Regions from separate parts of the Homo sapiens genome. Here region 1 is linked to region 2. The links are contacts of gene promoters, found by promoter capture Hi-C in blood cells and fetal thymus (Javierre and others, 2016). All regions are on one chromosome and are shown on one strand. The core of a region is centred on a gene start or on the middle of the fragment in contact, and the rest is flanking DNA. Distances in the headings are between cores, read along the strand shown.

Region 1 (2,700 bases), core at 110-2,609, 260 kb before region 2:
CCCTGGTCACCCCATTTAAAATTACAACACCCTTCCTCTGCAGTCCAAGTCCTCCTTCCTTGCTTTAGTTGTCTCTATAGCATTTGCCACCATCTGACACACTACATATTTTACTTATATATTGTCTGTCTCCTGACCCTACCACATACACTTGCTCATACACTCAAGTGTAAGTTCAGGGAATTTTGTCTACAAATTTCTGCATCTCTGATGTCTAGAATTGTTCCTAGCACATAGTAAGTTCTCAATAAATATTTGTAGAATGAATGATTGAGGACTAATTAAAATATTACTATCTTAATGAAGCTTTTCTAGTGTCCCCAGGCCTGACTACTTTCTTTTCTATATTCCTAATACTTAATACACTTTTCATTATAACTTTTATCACATTGTATTTTTATGGAAAACACATTTAAAGCTCTTAAATTTAGCCAGATGGTATAATTCAAAAGTACATTTTTGTTTAATAGACTGAAACCTCACATTGTACAGATTTGATTGAATGATTACAGAAATCATAATGCTCTGAGTATTTTTAAATTGCATTCACATCATGTTCTATGAGTTATTCTACAAAATTAAATCCAAGCTTGAGAAAATCTAAGAAAAAGCAGATTAGAAATAAATTCCAACACAGAGAGAAATCTTGTCTCATGCAATGGCATGTTCTGTGTTTTCACATCATGGACACCTTGCTATTTTGCTAGCAAGTATGAGACTTAAAAATTCTGCCTTTTGAGCATAAATAATCTGCAAAGACAAGTAATCTCAAAAGTCAATTCTAGAGGAGCATACCTGTGCATGTTGGTTTTGAAGAGGCTTTCTTCATCTGGAGGAAAACATTATTCACCAATTTTTTTTAAAATAAAATGCTATTACTTAAGGCCAGGAGGTATTTGCATGTCATGGAAATTTCACCAGATCCAGAAGAACTAATAAAATCTTCCTATGCCTCTGGGTGAAAGGTAGTGAGGAAGAACCAATCTCAAATACATTTCTGTGCCACCAGTGCAATTTCAGTGCCGGTACCACTGGCTGGCCAACCATATACTTTTTCACTGCTATCATTTTGGGTGTGGAGCATATATTTCAGCCATTGATAACTACTGTACCTGCCATTCCCTACTGGAAAATATCTTAAAATATACACATGGGGGAAATGGCTTGTCCTGAGCCAGCAGAGGTGACTGCTAAGTGGAATCTTCTGTCTGTATTTGAGGTGATAATGATCTAAGGAAGCCCCGATCTAAGGTGATGTGACAGCTGTGAATGCCTTTGACAGCAGTGATTATCAGCTTCAGTGAACACATTTTTAACCTGAAAAAAGGCATTCATGTGATGAGTAGGTGTTTCTGGGATTGAGTCAAGATTAACATTCATTCCTGGCTAGGGAATTCATGTCTTCTCTGCTATCATAGTTGAGAATTTCTCAAGTCCAAGGCAATGCAAAAATCCCTGTTCTAGATGAACCATATGTGTTGGAGAAGTGGAGGGATGATGATTTCTGTCAATACAGAATTATTTGTACTCTCTGGCCTAAGTTCTAAGAGAAACATGATTGTGCTATAAGCTAGGGACTCGAAATTAAAATTCGAGTTAATGCCAGGGTTCAGTCTTCCTCAATTGCACCTGTGTGCTGGGACCTCTTCCTGGGTTTTTTTTTGTTTTGTTTTTTTGTTTATTTTTGGCTCCCTGTTCTCATGCTTCCAGCTCTGTATCCTCTGGGTCCATTTTAGAAATCCAGCTCTCCAAACAGGCACTTTAAACATTTGTTTGTTTGTTTGTTTGTTTTTTATTTTTGGTGGATCTAGACCTCAAGAGGGGCCTGAAAGTAGGATCAATTCATCTGATGCCTAACAGTTGGTCATTAATTAACATATCCTTCCTGTATTGCTGGGAGCTTTTTAGTACAGATAGTTGCTGATTCCCATTAGTTGCAGATACGTTAGATACACCCTTGATTTAGTATATCTCTTCCTGGAATATCTTGCTTCAGTCATAAAATTCATGTTTTTATGAAAAATTGCAGTGGTCACCAAAAAAGAGAATTTTAGACCAATATCCTTGATGAACATTGATGCAAAAATCCTCAATAAAATACTGGCAAACTGAATCCAGCAGCACATCAAAAAGCTTATCCACCATGATCAAGTGGGCTTCATTCCTGGGATGCAAGGCTGGTTCAATATACGCAAATCAATAAATGTAATCTAGCATATAAACAGAACCAAAGACAAAAACCACATGATTATCTCAACAGATGCAGAAAAGGCCTTTGACAAAATTCAACAACCTTCATGCTAAAAACTCTCAATAAATTAGGTATTGATGGGACGTATCTCAAAATAATAAGAGCTATCTATGACAAACCCACAGCCAATATCATACTGAATGGGCAAAAACTGGAAGCATTCCCTTTGAAAACTGGCACAAGACAGGGATGCCCTCTCTCACCACTCCTATTCAACATAGTGTTGGAAGTTCTGGCCAGGGCAATTAGGCAGGAGAAGGAAATAAAGGGTATTCAAATTAGGAAAAGAGGAAGTCAAATTGTCCCTGTTTGCAGATGACATGATTGTATATCTAGAAAACCCCATTGTCTCAGCCCAAAATCTCCTTAAGCTGATAAGCAACTTCAGCAAAGTCTCAGGATACAAAATCAATGTACAAAAATCACAAGCATTCTTATACACTAATAAC
Region 2 (2,798 bases), core at 38-2,537:
ACCTCAATAAAGCTGTTTTGTTTTGTTTTGTTTTGTTTTGTTTTGAGACAAAGTCTCGCTTTGTCACCCAGGCTGGAGTGCAGTGGCGCAATCTCGGCTCACTGCAACCTCCGCCTCCTGGGTTCATGGGTTCACGCGATTCTCCTGACTCGGCCTCCCAAGTAGCTGGGATTAAAGGCGCACACCACCATGCCCAGCTAATTTTTGTATTTGTAGTAGAGACAGGGTTTCACCTTGTTGGCCAGGCTGGTCTCCAACTCCTGATCTCAGGTGATCCACCTGCCTCAACCTCCCAAAGTTTTAGGATTACAGGCCTAAGCTGCGCCTGGCCAAAAAGAAAGCTGTTTTTTTAAAACTATCTGCACTCCCTACTTGGGAGGGTTGGACTCAAGTTCCCACATCTCTTTCCTCTTACGGTTATATTAAGGGCTTAGTCATACATCCCTAAATTTCATATATCCCAACAGGGACTTGGGCTGGGACAGGAAGCCCTCTTCCTCCACCTCAACTACCACTTAGCCACCCACCATTTTCTCAAACCTCTTCCTTTCCCCACCGGACAGCTTAAACCAAGTCACACGTCTCATTGGTCTCAACAGAAATGAGGTCCCAACTCCTCATTTCCCAAGATATTTCCATGAACACAGCAATATCCTTTCCTACCCTGATTACCCCGCACCCTCCATTTCGGGTCCTTCTCACCCTGATCAGTGAGAATTGTTCTAGCAAGCAAACCTTAAATAGACCTCGTACCCTTTCTAGATTGCAAAGTAGATAAAAATCCAACTTTCCGTTAATTCAGGGATTAATTACTGAGCATCACTTATTTCTTGGGCAGTGGTTCTCAAAATGTGGTCCCAGGACCAACAGCTTCAGGATCACCTGAGAACCTGGGCTGCCACCGCCCCCTCCCCCACTACTAAATCAGCAACTCCGGAGTTGTGGGGCAGAAGTCAGTATTTTAACAAGGCCTCCAGGTGATTCTGATGCGCGCTACTCTTCTGGGGGTGTGAAAAACCAGAGAGGACAGGAAGAAAGTTAGAATTAAAGCATACCTACGAATCAGATAAGCGATAGGGGGAGGGGTGGTTATTTAAAAAACGATAACTAATTAAGAACTTGTATGTAGTAAGAAAACCTACCCTGCCCCAGAGAGCTTTCCCGAAAGATAATGGATTCCGACATTCACCTCAAGAACCGGCAGACAGAGCAGCAAAGGATCTGTCGCTGGCCAAGCAGGTCCCTGGCTAAGGCACTGCTAGGGACAGCTCGCGGCGGTTCGGGGGTTAATTCTCGGCAGCCCTCCGTCACCCGGTGCCCCACCCCCGCCCTGCGCCTGCGCGGTGAAGCGCCATAGAGCTGAGCACTCCTCCCAGATTCCTAGAGCGGACAGGGCGATGGCAGGTTCGCCGGGTGTGAGGCTTCACAGCGGTCCGGTGACCAAGTCGAGGTAAGGGTGATGTCGGCTCGCGGATAGCAGAGGAGTTCCGGGTGATCTTGCCTAACGAGCAGGAAACTGTGCATGGTTTCTCGAGTCCTTGGAGAGTGAAGGCCCCCGGGGTCGCTCCCGGGCACGGAGAGACGATTGGTTCACGGCCTAGTGTTCGGTTTGTTCCCAGTCAGCCCTTGCTGGCCTTGGGTTCAACCGAATGAACGCCAGAAACTCTGTGGGGTGGGGGGAGTCACCAACCGTGGTGCATCCATACGAATCAGCCTACCGTACTGGGAAAGAGCCACCTGAATTTGTGAATGTTGTAAAAGCAAAAGGAAGAAAAATGATCAGTAGTGTCATTTTTGGATAGGAAGGGCAGCGAATAACATAGTGTTAACCACTAGAATTCACTGTAAAATTCCCCTCTCTGCGTTATCTTTCCAGTTATACCTTTTTTTGGTAGCATTAACCCCTAATTTTGTTTGAACATCTCTAGACTTGGAATGGGGAATGTGTGTCTTAAGTGGGTTAATCCCTGGCTCTTGGATGATGGGGAGGAAGCCTAATACATTCTGAGAGAAAAGCAACTGGAAGTCAAATGAGATTTTTTGTTTTCTCCTTCTTTTATATCTTGAGGATTTTTCTGGTGGTCTAGTCTCAGAGATTACATCTGTAGTCAGCACAATGATTCCCTTCCAAGCCCAGTGGTGCCCAGTTGCCTCCAGGTCCCAGACCTTTATGTGGACAAGAAAAGCTTACAGAGGAAATGGTAATTCTCCACTTGCACACTGAGGTGTCCAGTTGCAGCCCATGGAGATCCAGTTCAATTATGAATCTCAGGAACACCACCTTCTGTCAGGTGAGAGGCAGGGTATTATATCTTTCTTAGTGGCTTTGGCGGGGTGGGGAGGATGAGGGGGTGTCACTCTATGCTAGTGTCTTCAAATGATCCCCCTTAACTCTGTTAGGCAGTATTACCTCTTTAGTGTACCAAGCATAGTCACATGACTTTATTTCAAAATCTGGCGATCAAATTCTCATGCAGCTCTCTCCACTTTTTTAAGACCCCAAAGTCATTCATTTTTCCCTGTATAATGACCTCATTGCTAATCTGTCAGTTTTGGTCATTTTTCTTATCTACTGTAGGGGCATAGTTAAAAGTTCTGGAGTCTGACAACCTAGATTCAAACAGTAGTTTTGTCACTTAACTGGCTCCAGTAAGTTACTCATATATTTTACGATTCTGTTTCCTCACTTTTCAAGTGCATAGTACTTCATACCTTGAAGTTATTTTGAGATTTGTATCTATGTATTACTCCAGAATAAAGAACCCCAAAATTTAGTGACCTAAAACATCAGACTTCTT

The links. Contacts are between HindIII fragments. The CHiCAGO score rates a contact against its expected background, and 5 or more counts as called.
Region 1: a fragment that was not itself captured here is called in contact with the fragment with the promoter of ZSCAN30 in region 2 in 5 of 17 cell types (fetal thymus, non-activated CD4 T cells, naive CD4 T cells and 2 more); the score reaches 9.9 in fetal thymus.

What each region holds. Positions count from the first base shown.
Region 1 is chr18:35,031,021-35,033,720 of GRCh38, forward strand. It overlaps a transcript of MAPRE2 not described here. Among named protein-coding and RNA genes, the nearest start is that of MAPRE2, 9.0 kb to the right of the region's middle. The HindIII fragment of the contact is 1,544 bases long and covers 588-2,131 here.
Region 2 is chr18:35,288,942-35,291,739 of GRCh38, forward strand. ZSCAN30 (zinc finger and SCAN domain containing 30) reads right to left here and starts at 1,288. Exons shown (of 4, transcript NM_001112734.4): 1 at 1,143-1,288. It also overlaps the pseudogene ZNF271P. RefSeq lists an enhancer at 1,405-1,564. The HindIII fragment of the contact is 2,453 bases long and covers 1-2,184 here.